3 separate regions of the Homo sapiens genome follow, and all the other regions are linked to region 2. The links are contacts of gene promoters, found by promoter capture Hi-C in blood cells and fetal thymus (Javierre and others, 2016). All regions are on one chromosome and are shown on one strand. Each heading gives the region's core, a stretch centred on a gene start or on the middle of the fragment in contact. The rest is flanking DNA. Distances are from core to core; before and after follow the strand shown. Region 1 holds the start of ZNF81 (zinc finger protein 81). Region 2 holds the start of PORCN (porcupine O-acyltransferase). Region 3 holds the start of FOXP3 (forkhead box P3).

Region 1 (4,823 bases), core at 2,246-4,745, 670 kb before region 2:
CAAAACTCATGTTGAAATTTATCCCCAATGTAGCAGTATTGAGAAGTAGGGCCTTCAAGAGGTGATTGAGTGTTGAGGTCTCTGCCCTGCCCTCATGAATGGATTACCCCATTAATGAGTTACCATGGGAGTGGAACTAGTGACTTTATAAGAAGAGGAAGAGAGGCCAGGTGCAATGGCTCATGCCTGTAATCCCAGCACAAGGTCAGGAGTTCGAGACCAGCCTGACCAACATGGTGAAACCCTGTCTCTACTAAAAATACAAAAATTAGCTGGGCGTGGTGGCGCGCGCCTATAATCAGGAGGCTGAGGCAGGAGAATCGCTTGAACCCGGGAGGCAGAGGTTGCAGGCAGCCGAGATCGCACCACTGGACTCTAGCCTGGGCGACAGAGAAAGAATCCGTCTCAAAAAAAAAAGGAGGAGCGACCTCAGCTAGCATGCTCAGCCCCTTCACTGTGTGATACCCTGTGCTACCTTGGGACTCTGCAGAAAGTCCCTACCAGAAAGAAGGCCCTCACCAGTTATTGCCCTTCAACCTTGGACTTCTCAGCCTCCGTAACTGTAAGAAATAAATTCCTTTTCTTTAGAAATTACCCAGTTTCAGGTATTCTGTTGTAAGCAACAGAAAACAGACTAAGAAACATGCATATCCTAGGTTTCTTGTGCAAGTGTTTCTCTTGGTTACATTCATGAGAGTGGACTCACTGGATTGTTAAGGTATGTATATATTCACTGTAGGAGAAAATGCAAAAATATTTTCTAAAGTGGTTGCACTGATTTACATTCCTTCAACAGGGCAAAAAGATCCTGTTGGCCCACATACTCTCCAACTCTTGGTATTGTCAGACTTTTATGTTTTTGCAATTTGAATGGGTATAAAATGTCATTTTTATCATGTCTTGATTTGTATTTCCCTTATCACAAATGACTTTGAACATCTCTTTATATGTTTGCTGGCTCTATATCTCCTTCTTCTCTGAAGTGGTCTAACAGAACTTTCTTTTTTTTTTTTTTTTGGTACTATTATGACATCCAAGAACACTAACAGTGATTCTTGGCACTCTATTAGAAGTGTATGCATGCCAAATATGCTTCCACTGATTCCATTCTTCTTTCATTTATTCATTCAACAAACATTTGCCCAGACCAGGGATGCAGGGGCAGAATGACAAGCTGGGATAATCAAAGTTCAACTGCTATGGTTCAAATGTTTGTCTCCTCTGAAACTCATATTGAAATTGCCATTGTAACAGTATTAGGAGGTGGGGCCTTTAAAAAGTGAATAGGTCATGGAGGCTCCATTCTCATAAACTGATTAATGCTGTCACTGAGGGAATGGGTTAGTCACCTCAAGAGTGGGTTGTTATAAAGTGAGCCCAGTCCCTTGTGCTTTCTCTTTGTTCATACACTTGCTTGCCCTCTTGTCCTCTGCCATGGAATAATGCAGCAATAAGGCCCTCACCAGATGCTGGCACCAAGTTGGACTTCCCAATCTCCAGAACTATGAGCCAAATAAGCTTATTTTCTTTATAAATTACCCAATCTGTGATATTCTGTTACAGTAGCAGAAAATGGACAAAGATACCAACTCTCTAAAAAAATTAAAATGAAAATCGGACTATAAAAATCTGCCTTGCTATTCATCAGGATGGAAGAACAGACACATATAAAGCCAAATGCAAAATTCACAGGAAACATTATTTCTTCTAAGGACAGGCTGCAGTTGTAATGCCATAAAGAACCCCTACTTTAAGTGCCTATTGCTTTCTTGGTCAATGAGAAACTTTGTTCTCTACAATCATAGACTATCAGAAACTTTGCTGTTTGAAATGATATCAGTAAGAGGGAAACATCTGATTCTCATGGGAGATTCTAAGTCACTTCCAGACAGAGAAGCAAGATTCAATTTTCAACCCAGGTGCAAAGCTTTAGGCAAGAGTTATCTGGGGACACAAAATTCTACATCTAAATTGTTTCCAAGGAAACAGCACTCTGGGTTCACTTCACAGTCCAGACCTGACAATTACCCTTTACATACAGCCCTGCTTTCCTTTGAGCCCACTAAAACACTGCTTCATTTAATTTCATCTGAACTCCACTATTCCTCAAAATCCTATAAGAACTCTATCTTTTCCTTTGCTTAGTGAGCTGCCCATGGTGCCCCTGGTGTGCAGTCTCCCTTATTGATTGCTGGATCTGTCAGACTAAAAATTAGTTTGAGGCTAATTGGACTAGGACACCTCTAACCTTCGAGATTGTTAAACCGAGGGCCAGAGGGGATAAGACTGGATTGAGAGCCCCCAGCAAGTCCACACTTCAGCCTACACCAGGTCCTCTCAAAATATTTTTTTCACCTGAGGATTCAGAAAGGCTTTCAGGAGGGCACACAGGCTTCTAGCTCTGTCAGGATTCTCTGGAGGAGGAGATATTTGAACTTGATTTTGAAGGATGAATAGGCATTCTTAGGTGAAGGACTGCACGACTTCTTCCCCTTCTGCTCCAGTGACATCTCCCAGAGGGCAGGGGCATCTCCAGAATTTACACATTGGAGGTGATATGGAGCAGCAAACTGGTTGAAGGGTAGAAGCAGAGCCTTGTATTAAAGCTACATTTCCAAAGTAAGGGCACCATGACCACATATATTTTACTTCATGAGGAAATAAAAATAATAAAGTTTCCTAAAGATTTTTATTGACATATTGCATTGGACTAAGGACACATTAAAAATTATTAGTATTGGTACTACGTAGTCCCTTTTTAGCTGGGGTAGATGGAGTGGGAGATAAGGTAAATTGCTGCAGCATTCAAACCTCGCATCCAAGCCCCACAGGCACAGCAGGAGGGGAACCCAGCACTCTGAGTTCTCCCTTTTTCCCACCTCATGGCATATCCTAGGAGGGCTTGCATAACCATGATTTCTCCTCCTCCTCCTCCCCTTGTGGTATGTCCTAGGAGAAGCCTGTAACCAGCCTGACATCTCCCCGCTTCTCATCCTGTGGTATCTGCCAGGAGATAGCCGCGGCCGCCCCTGATTCTTTCCAAGAGGCCCTTCAGTTTCTCGGAGCGGTATCACACAGATCCATAGACTACAGGTCCAAAGACCCCCTCCTCCAGTTAGCCCGCCCAGAGAAACGTCCCCACCCGTGCTCCCTGCCACCAGCGGGACAGCTCCACCTGAGTTTAGAGCAGACAGCTCTAAACTCACAGCCTGCTCTGTGAGTTCAGAGGTGTCCTCATCCTCAATACGGATGGACACTCCTCCAACATGGTGTATCCCATGGGGAAGCGCGACGTGGGCGCGGCCATGTTCCCCACCTGACCACGCCGCCGAGGGGTACCGAACGTCCCAAAGCACCCACTTCCGTAACTTCTCCATGTTGACTCCTGGCTAACAGCAGCTTCAAAGGTGGTTTTGCGCACGCGCGGAACCTCCGCTTCCCTCATTCATGTGAAGTCCCAAACCCCGAAAAAGGGCGGTGCTAGGGGTAGTGACCGGAAGCGGCTGCGGTTCTCGCCGGTTCTCAGCCGGGGTTTGATAGTTGTCAGGAGGATTCGACGTTCAGTGCCCAGGGATGTGGAGGTGATGGGGGGCCGGGGAGGGTGAGTGCTGGGCGATTCTGTGTGGCCAGTGATGGAATCGTTTATCTAACTTGAGTTGGATGATTCACTCATCATTTTGCAGGCTTTTCTCTTTTCTAACATCACCGTTAAGGTCTTAAAGTTCATTCTAAGCCCCATTGGGTTTGGAGCATTATGTTTTTTAAGAGTGTTAACTTGTATTCATTTGTCTTTTACCCGGGAGTTATTCAAAAGTGGGGTTTCAGTGTGCAAAAGTTTATCTCTGTAATGGATCTCTAACCTTAGTTTTCTGTGTTAGAAAAATATCTACGTGAAGCTCATTCCTTGAAATATAAGGAGACTTATGGCCTAGTCCGTGGTGAATTTTTAGAAACGTTCTATATATAACTTGAAAATAATATTTAATTATTTAGTCGTCAATTGTGTCATAGAAAATCTATCCTTTTTTGTCTGCTTCTTCTATTACTTCGAGGAGAGAGAAATTCTCCACTGTGATGGTGATTTGTCTGTGTCTCCTTACTGCTGTCTGTGATCCTCTGTGAGTTACTTTTTGTATAAAGTATGAGACTTAGGTCGAGGTGCATTAATTTGCTTATGGATGTCCAGACTGAAGCACCATTTGTTGAAAAGACTATCTTTCCTCCATTGACTTGTCTTTCACCATTGTCAAAAATAAGTTGGCCATACTTGTGTGTGGGCTCTTTCTGGGTTTGCTATTCAGTTCATTGTCTATGTGTCTATCCCTCTGCCAGTACTACCTTGCTGTCTTGAATTGGATAGAGTGATTCCTCTCACTTTATTCTTTTTCAAAATTGTTTTAATGCCTCTGGTTCCCTTGCCTTTCCTATATGCATTTTAGAAAATCTTGTCTCTATCTACAAAGCATCTTGCTTGGATTTTGATAGGAATTGCATTAAACCTGTATACCAACTCGGGAAGAAGTTAAGTCTTAACTGTGCCAAGTCTTCCAATCCATATACATAGTATGTCTCTCTATTTATTTAGATCTTTTAAAATTTCTATAAATGGTGTATTTTAATTTTCATCACCCAAGTTCTGTACATGTCTTATTCAATTTATACCTAAGTATTTAATTGTTTTGGAGTGGTCATAAATGGTGTTATCTTTTAAATTGTTGCTTATATATAGGAATACAATTGAGTTTTGTCTGTTGGTCTTGTATCCTGCAATCTTGCTGAGCTCAATTATTAGGTTTTACACCTTTTTTGGCAGATTCCTTGGA
Region 2 (4,562 bases), core at 1,176-3,675:
AACACCCCAGAAACCACAACCTAGAATGACCACAGACATTTATTGAGTGTCCACCCTCTACTAAGCTCCAGTGATAAAAATATGAAGCACAACATCTGGTAGATGTAAAATGGTATTATATCTCACTGTTGTTTTAATTTTACATTTCCCTGAGCAGTAAAGAGATTGGGTTATCTTTTCATATATTATACATATTGACCATTTTAGGTTTCTTCTGCTGTGAATTACCTATTTGTACCCAATGTCTATTGCCAAGTGTATTGTTTGTCCTCTTCGGATTTGTAGATGTTCGTTATATATCCTAAAACCTAGATCCTACTTCTTTGTGACACAGGTCAAAAGCCTAGATGGAAACAATCAAGTCCGCAAAGCCCAGGAGCACATGTGGTAAGAATCTTCCAGTTTTAAATGCCAAGTCTTGCAATTGAGGGAAGTATTTCTGGTAGGTGCTGTGGGTCATTGTTGACTCAACTTGAGTGGGTTTGACAACTGAGAAAAAAATTAAAATGAAATTTAATTCATAAAATGTATGTCCTGTATTCTGCTGTTAAGGAAAAGAATTGATATTTGTGCATCTGGTCTAAGCTATTATTCCTTATATATACATATTCTTACCGTATTAAATGTTTTTTGTTTGTAATACATGAATACTAATTTATGAGCTAGAACTCCATTTAACTTCATGTTAAAATAGAGAGAAAATATACATTTCTCTTCAATTACCATTGGTGTTTCCCAGCAAAAACCTGCCAAGCCCACTCTTTTGTTTAACAGAAAAGGACAATGGAGACGGGTGAGTGAACATGACTTGCCCAGCTCCATACAGGCCATTGTTAATCTGATTAAAATCTGTTTCAGTTGGCTGCCCAGGTCAGGGTGGCGTCCAGTTTGACCTGGGCTTCCTTCTCCCTTCCACGTCACAGCTAAGCATGTAGTGCAGTAAGCGCCCAGTAAGTGCTCTTTTGGAAAAATAGGCCCTTCATCAGCCTAGGTACAAAGGGGAATGCCTAGAAACTGCAGCAGTAGGGTAGGTAGAAGGCGGGTGCTACATAAATCTTTAGTGTTGGTGCAGATAGAGGTGCGGATGGGGCCAGTGTAAGCGCTTTCTTTTTTATTTTATTTATTTATTTATTTAGAGAAGGAGTTTCGCTCTTGTTTATTTATTTATTTATTTTGGAGAAGGAGTTTTGCTCTTGTCACCCAGGCTGGAGTGCAATGGCGTGATCTCGGCTCACTGCAACCTCCGTCTCCTGGGCTCAAGTGATTCTCCTGCCTCAGCCTCCGGAGTAGCTGGGATTACAGGCGCCCAGCTAAATTTTTTGTATTTTTAGTAGAGACAGGGTTTCGCCATATTGGCCAGCCTGGTCTCAAACTCATGACCTCAGGTGATCCATCCGCCTCGGCCTTCCAAAGTGCTGGGTTACAGGTGTGAGCCACCACGCCCAGTCTTTATTTATTTATTTTGAGACGGAGTTTCGCTCTTGTAGCCCACAATGACGCGATCTTGGCTCACTGCAACCTCTGCCTCCTGATTCTCCTGCTTTAACCTCCCGAGTAGCTGGGATTACAAGCGTGCGCCACCACGCCTGGCTAATTTTTGTATTTTTAGTAGAGACGGGGTTTCGCCATGTTGGCCAGGCTGGTCTCGAACTCCTGACCTCAAGCTATCCTCCTACCCTTGGCCTCCCGAAGTGCTGGGTTTATAGGCGTGAGCCACCGAGCCTGGCCCTTAAGAGCTTTATAAATGCCCCCCTTTTAAGTGCTCGGTACTAGCCTCCCTCTAGTTCACAGAGAACATTTACTAGTCGCTGGGGTCACCTTCGAAGCAAAGAGTCTGCTGGGGAATTAAGCATGCAAATCACTTCTCAACGACGACACGCCAAGTGCTCACAGCTCGTCCCCAGGGGAAGCACAGGCGCCTAATTTGTGTTCCTAGGTGACACAGTCATTACTTATAAATGTTCCTGGCCGGTCCCAGGAGGTGGGAGGGTTGGGAGTTACTTCGGTTCTCTCAAAGGTTGGGGAAGGAGAGATCTCGGTTTGTTTTCCCATCTGTGAAACGGGGACACCACGGTATTTAGAGGACGTGCGCGGGTGACTATTTGGGGGTGCAGCGGCTTCCCTCCTCCCTCCCCCATCTTTCCCTTCTCACTTCCAAGGCTTGGAAATTTGGAGATTCGGAAGTTTGTTCTTGGATGGCCAGAAATCCTCCGGAGGCAGACGGTCTGGGGCTGAAACCGCCACAGGCCGGAAAGGTGCGGGCGTGAACGTCCTGCGCGCCGACGTCCCCCCGCGCCGGTCTCCCCTCAATCCTCCTGCTCCCCTCCTCCGCGTCCCCGTCCCCGCCCCCCTCCTGCTCTCCCATTGGCCGAGCCGGCGGCCGGGCCGCCCCGGGATTTAAAGGGCCCGCTCGCCGCGCCGCTCTGGGAGCCGCTGCTGGTCCCGGCCTTGCGGCCTGCGGGGGAGGCTGCCCGGAGGAGGCAGCGGCGGCGGCAGCGCGTCCTCGGTCCCCAGGACCACGGCTTCTTTCCTGCCAGGTAGGTCGCCAGTAGTGCGCACGCGGCTCCCCAGCTCCCATCCCTGGGCCGGCCTCCCCAGGCGGATCTGTAGCGCGAGTGCTAGGACCCCCTCCCCATCACCTTTCCGACTCTCCCTCAGGCTATGTCTCCTACCACCACCTCCTTGCAGCCCCCGGACCTGGGCAGGACTTTGTTGGCGGCCTCTCGCCGGGTGGGGATGAGATGGGGGGCGCGGAGGATACAGGACACCCCCCCTCCCCGTGCCGCCGCATCCATACAAGGAGAGATGCACACGGCCCCCAAGTGTCACAGAATCCCCCTCTCTGCCCTCCACTCAGAGCGACTCTACCTTGGAAACCAGGGATTCCCCTTCCCGTCGCCCGCCCCATTTGATATATGGGCCTGAAATGTATGCCATCCCATCACCATCGGACTGGACTGTTCACAGCACTGGAGAGACAGAGGTCCTTCATTCACTCCAGGTCACAGGCTGTGCGTGTGCATGCCGAACACCCACATGCACACAGTTGGTGGCTCAGTCTGATGTACCTGACTTCTCACGCCTTCCCCCAGTCCTCCAGTACCGTGCCTCTACATGGGCTGGGCAGCCCCAAACTGAAATGTGAGTGCCAGAGTGCATCCTTTAAGCGAGGTCTGCCCCACGGACACCCGCTCCCTCTGTGTCCCTGCTTTGACAGATCTATCCATCTGGCCATCCATCCGTGGGGGTCTGCAATGGCCACCTTTAGCCGCCAGGAATTTTTCCAGCAGCTACTGCAAGGCTGTCTCCTGCCTACTGCCCAGCAGGGCCTTGACCAGATCTGGCTGCTCCTTGCCATCTGCCTCGCCTGCCGCCTCCTCTGGAGGCTCGGTAAGTGCCTGCCATACCGTGTGCCACCATGCCAGGCCATATCAGACCTCCCACATTCATCCATATCGAGCCACACCTTACCCTGTCACATCCTGCCAGGCCCTAGCATGTCCAAGCTGGACCCCAACATGTTCAGCCCCACCACATCCCACCAGGCCAAACCCCATTCCACCATACCACATCCTACTATGCCAGCCACCCCATGCCATGCCACACCGAGCCACATCCTGCCATGCCAAGCCATGCCCTTCAGTATTCCTGAGTTCTGGGATTCCAGAAAGCTGAGATTCTTGGATCTTGGGATTCTGAAATGTCTACATCCCAAGGTTATAAGACATTGGCATGCTGATGTCACAGGGTTATGGAATCCCAAAGTACCATGATTACAGCGTTTGGAGATTCTGACAATTTGAAATTCTCACATTCTAGACTTCTAAAATGTTGGCATTGTGGATTTCTATAATCAGGGCATGATGCGATTTCTGGATTCTAGGATTCTGAAATGTTTCCACAGTCATAGCAGGCCTGTATCTTAATGAAAGATTCCAAGTCCCCAAGATTCCTATAGGAGGCGGAGATTTCTGGAAATCTGAGATCCGAAGGTTCTACACTTTCTTTTTTCTTTCTTTCTTTTTTAATTTTAAATGGATGTTCTATTTTTTCCCAGGTTTATTATTTTGAAATTTTTCAAAGCTACTGAAATGTTGAAAAAATAGTACAGTGAGCACCCACGTATGCATCACCAGATTCTCTGTCAACATCTTGCCACGTTAGCTGGCTCTATCTGTCTATCTATCTATCTATCTGTATATCTATCCATCTATCTATCTATCTATCTATCCATCTATCTATCTATCATCTTCCTGAATTGCCTGAATAACCTGCTGACATCATGACACTGTACCCCACATCCTTCAGTGTGTGGCCCCTGAGAACAAGGACATCATCTCCCACAACCACATCCTCCACCATCACCCCACAAGACATTGAATCTGGATACAATAATGTTATCCTATATAAATTGATATTTGAATTTCTTCCAAGGTCCCCCAAATGCCCTTTATAGATGTTTCTTTTCTTTAAACCCAGGCCCTGCCACCCTCTCCAGCTCCCCAACACCTGCTTTGGGCCCCTCCAATCCCACTACATTCCAGCCTGAAGGCCTTTGCCCT
Region 3 (4,635 bases), core at 2,122-4,621, 760 kb after region 2:
TCTGGAACAACGTTCCCAAATACATGGCCACTCCGCCAGAGATGGCAACAGGGGGAGGAGGAGGTTGAGGCTGGTGTGCCTTTGGTCTGGGCCTCATGGGGGGAGCTGGAAAAGCCTCAGCCTTCGCCAATACAGAGCCCATCATCAGACTCTCTAGAGGGGCCCCACAATCAAGGTTTTCGGGGACCAGCACCAGCTCTGGGGACACACAGCCTGACTGACTGACATGCCTCCATCATCACCACGCTCTGGCCAACTAGGCCTCCTGACCTATGGAGTCCGGGGCCTCACCTAGCCCAGCTCTTGTGAGGCTGGGCCCCACACTGTGATCGTGGATCGTCCAACCTGTGGGAAGTTGGGGTCCAACGTGTGAGAAGGCAGAAGGGGGAATGGTAGCCCAGGTTCCCCTTCCCCCTTCTGGGTGCTGAGGGGTAAACTGAGGCCTGCAGTTGGGGAGAGAGCCAGAACCAGGGTCCCACCTAGAGTCCTGAGATCTAGGCTTGGATTTCAACTCTGCCGCTGCATTTCGGTGAGGCCCTGAGATCTCTGGTCTTCAATTTGCCCTTCTACACTGAGCACGGAGAGGCGTGGAGTAGACAAGGGCCAGGGCCCTTCTACGCTGTCTGGTTAAGTCATTAGGTGTCTGCAGGGCTTCAAGTTGACAATTGCCCCTCTATCCAGGGGACTGGCTGAGAGATAGGGATACATAGAGACAAAGAGACACACACAAAGAGCGAGCAAGAGAGAACAAGAGATAGTGAGAGACATTGAGAGAAATGGACACATGCATGGAGAGCCAGAGTGCATGTGTGCGAGAGGAGGATTGCCTCAAATAAGAACATTTGCTGGTCTCTGGCTGGTTCAACTGATGCTGCCTGAAATAATCAAGAATAAAGAAGGGCAAGGTGCCAGGGACACCCATGGCTGGGTATTGAATTGTATTGCAAAGCAACAATCAGCAAAACAGTGTGGCCCTGGTATAAGAACAGATACTGGGGAAGAGAACAGAATAGAAAGCTTGGACATGGACCCACATATGGAGAGAACTGAATTTGTGATGAATGTGGCATTTCAAACTGGAGGACCATGGAGTATGGTTTAACAAATGTGTCTGAGATAATTAGGGAGAAGATAAAGTTATTGAGTGAATAGTCAGTCCATTATCCCAACAACCCCTCCCTGCCCAGTTTGAAATGTCACCATCATCATATACCCTAAAATGCCCAGATCCATTCAAGATATAAGTTTTAACACCTAATGCTGATCTTGGGTTTATTGTGTGTCAGGCCTTGTGCTAAGTATTTACTGTGGTTAAAAATTTTAATCTAAACAAAGACTCCTGAGGAAGGTACTATTATAACCATTGCAGTACATATGAGGAAATGGAGGTATGGAGAGGTTAAGTGCCTGGCTAAAAATCACACATAGGGCTTGGGGTGACGCTGGGTTTGTCCCAGACAGTCTGGCTCCAGTACCCACACTCTTAACCTCTATAGTAAATGGAAAAAATGAAGCCATAAAAGAGACTAGAAGCCAACATAGGTGAACATTTATCTCATTTTCAAGTAGGAAAGGACTTTCTAAGCACAAAACCAGAGACAGAAGCCACAGAAAAAAAGACTAACCTATTTGACTGTATAAAACCATCATAAGCATCACAAAAAACACCATAAACAAATAGAAAAAAAGCAAATGATGAATTGGGGAAAATATTTGCTATATATGTAATGGCTGATGAAAGGTTAATAACCATTCCAAATAAAGAGCTGTGGCAAATCAATAAGGGAAAAATAAGATGAACACCCTATTAGGAGTAAGGACATGACCAGACAACCAAAAAAAAAAAAAAAAAAGCATGAATGGCCAATGAATAGTAAAAGTAATCACAAGATGCAAATTTCAACAATGTGATAATGTGTTTTTCTTACCTGTCATGTTGGGAAATAATTAAAACATAATAATACTCACCTAGGGTTAGCTTAAGTAGAGGGAGCATAAAATAGGACAACCTTTTGGAAGGAGAATTAGCAGAGAGGGTCATAAACTTTAAAAATGCACGCCCCCTTTGCCCCAGCAACTCCCTTTTCAGGAATCCAAGGAAGCAGTCAGGGATGTTTATAGAAAAAAACGAGAAACAACCGGAATGTCCAACAATCGGCACTTGGTCAAATCAATCAAAGTTCATGCTGATGTGAGGACAGTCTTGTCCATCATGAAAGATCATGTGTTCAAACAATTTTTAGTAAGCTTCAAAAACACTACTGTTAATTGAATAAAGCAGGAACAAAACCAATATATAGCATGATTCTAATTTGGTTACAGAAATACTAATAGCTAACACTTCGTGAGCACTTACTTTGTGCCAAACGCTGTGCTAAGCCTGCAGAATCGAGCTCACCCCAGCCCTGAACAACCTGTTTGCTTCCTGAATATGGACTCTGGTCACACACATGCAGTCCTGGGGTAGGTCCACACAGCTAAACTACGGTTGACAATGGTGTGAAGTGCTCCCTGCCCCCCCGCCCCAAGGGTCTCCTCTAAAGCGATACAAGCAAAGTTCAGTTAAGTGCTCAGCTTGCCCCGGCACCTTGCAATCCTCCTGCTACTAGGGTGAACAGAACTGATGCTCACTCTCATAAAATGTAAAGGTCCTCGGCGACATTACTATTATTAAACGCCAGCTGTGTACAAAGCTCTAGGCTGGATGCTGGCTGGGAAGGCAGGTGGGGGAAGGCAAGAAAAGAGAGCGGGAGAGATGGAGGAAAGGAGATCGATGGAGTGTGGTCAAGATGGAGGAGACAGAGATAGGGGAGATGGTCAGAGGCCAGGAGAGATGCGGGGAAAGAGAGTCTGAGTGTAGCGACAGACAGATGGCGGGAGAAAGAGAGGCAGAGAAACATGTAAAAGAGCAAGACAGGGTGAGCAGAGAGACAGAGAAGGATGAGAGGCATCAAGAGCTAAGAGACAAAGAGATGAGAGAGATGCAGTTGAAATTTTCAGTTGCACCTGGACAGCATTTCAAGTTGTTCAAAGCTCTGAAATCCATAAAGACTGGCAGCTGACATATTTTAAAAATCCTATCCATCTACGTATCAATTGATGAATTCATTTATTTTTGCCCCTGCCCATGCATTAAGTACTTCACCTTTAAGTCTTCTGCCATTTATTCTATTATTTTTTTAAAGACCTTACCTGGCTGGAATCACGGTAGCTGGGTACATCCCACTGTACCAGAGGGCCCCTGACCCCCCCGCCGTGCCTACCTCCCTGCCATCTCCTCCAATGGGGCCCACATCTGGTAGGGGAGAGCAGGGACACTCACCTTGGTGAAGTGGACTGACAGAAAAGGATCAGCCTGGCTTGTGGGAAACTGTCACGTATCAAAAACAACTTTGCTTTTATACCGAGAAGAAAAACCACGCTGTACGGTGTGGAAGCCGCAGACCTCTCTCTTCTAATAATCCAAATTTTTTTCGATGAGTGTGTGCGCTGATAATCACGGGGTGGGGAGGGGTTCTCATAGTTTTTTTTTTCTCTCTCTCTGTGTTTCTCCTTTTCTTGATTATGAGACTTAAACGGAAATTTTGAAATTTTGGGTTTTTTTCTTTGCCCTTTACGAGTCATCTGAAAATATGATTTCTTCCCCTCACCACAGAGGTGAGAGGTATCAATGAGATAATAGGGCTCATGAGAAACCACAGTTTTTAAAACAAAAGTGTATAGAGTTTGAAAAAAAAAAAACAAGGGAAAAGAACTAAAATAAATCACAGGGCCAACCCGAGGCAGGCAGAGACACCATTCTGTGAGTGAGAGGATATTTGAGGGTCTCTGGGGAAAGAAAGAGAATCTGAAGCTCTATGTGTGGATGGGAAATGCCAGGGAAAGAGACAGAATAGGGCTGGGTTCCCAGAGGCCTCGCCCTACTCCAGGCCTCAGTTTCCCTATAGATGGAATTGATATGGTCCCCATTGCTTGAACTACCCGGCGAGGGGAGTTCTGCACCCCCTGCAACACCCCTCCCACAGAGGGTGAGGGGCATGTAAGTTACTTCATGGAGGAGAAAGCGGAGAGCCCACTGTCATCCCCTAAAATTCATGGACTTGAAGAGTCGGAGAATCCCTGGCTCCCAGAATCTACTGACAGTTACTGAATGAGGAAAGAGAGAAAAGTCTCGCCTCATCACGTTTTAGGGCTTGAGTGCCCTGACCCAGCCACTGTCCCACTGGGAAGGTCCCTAGCAGGTCCCCAATATTAATGCATCCATCCTCACGATGAACCCCAGAGGCCCATTGGGACCCTGACCCTCTTGTTTCAGGAACATCATGGCCTGATGCTTCTGAGGCCCTCAGCCTTTGGGGTCTTTTACTTCAAAAAGCCCCAGTTTCCAAGGATTTAGGATTCCAAATATCCGCCATCATCTCAGTAGCTGATGTTTATCTTGAATTTTCCATGGGTCAGATACAGTGCTGAACATGTCTCACAAGTGATCATGTTCAATCCTCACCATGGCCCCTTGAGCTCCATCTCATCATTATTGTATTCCTGTTATACAGATGAGGGAAACGGAGGTATAAGTAGTCAAGCAACTTGCCCAAGATCACAGAGCTGGCGAGTGTGGGTCCCGCTTTCTTTGGT

Evidence for each region. The method cuts DNA at HindIII sites, captures the fragments that hold promoters and counts their contacts. A CHiCAGO score of 5 or more calls a contact.
Region 1: the fragment with the promoter of ZNF81 here is called in contact with the fragment with the promoter of PORCN in region 2 in 2 of 17 cell types (M0 macrophages and neutrophils); the score reaches 5.5 in M0 macrophages.
Region 3: a contact is called between the fragment with the promoter of FOXP3 here and the fragment with the promoter of PORCN in region 2, in 2 of 17 cell types (activated CD4 T cells and neutrophils). The highest score is 7.2, in activated CD4 T cells.

Annotation. Positions count from the first base shown.
Region 1 is chrX:47,833,407-47,838,229 of GRCh38, forward strand. ZNF81 (zinc finger protein 81) reads left to right here and starts at 3,496. Exons shown (of 5, transcript NM_007137.5): 1 at 3,496-3,581. RefSeq lists an enhancer at 3,244-3,623. The HindIII fragment of the contact is 3,931 bases long and covers 1,926-4,823 here.
Region 2 is chrX:48,506,567-48,511,128 of GRCh38, forward strand. It overlaps PORCN (porcupine O-acyltransferase), which reads left to right and starts at 2,426. Exons shown (of 15, transcript NM_203475.3): 1 at 2,426-2,537; 2 at 3,218-3,390. The coding sequence starts at 3,255. It overlaps PORCN-DT (PORCN divergent transcript), which reads right to left and starts at 2,273. Exons shown (of 2, transcript NR_135596.1): 1 at 2,153-2,273; 2 at 1-489. RefSeq lists a silencer at 2,253-2,652. The HindIII fragment of the contact is 7,257 bases long and covers 1-4,562 here.
Region 3 is chrX:49,261,339-49,265,973 of GRCh38, forward strand. It overlaps FOXP3 (forkhead box P3), which reads right to left and starts at 3,372. Exons shown (of 12, transcript NM_014009.4): 1 at 3,323-3,372. The HindIII fragment of the contact is 2,410 bases long and covers 2,246-4,635 here.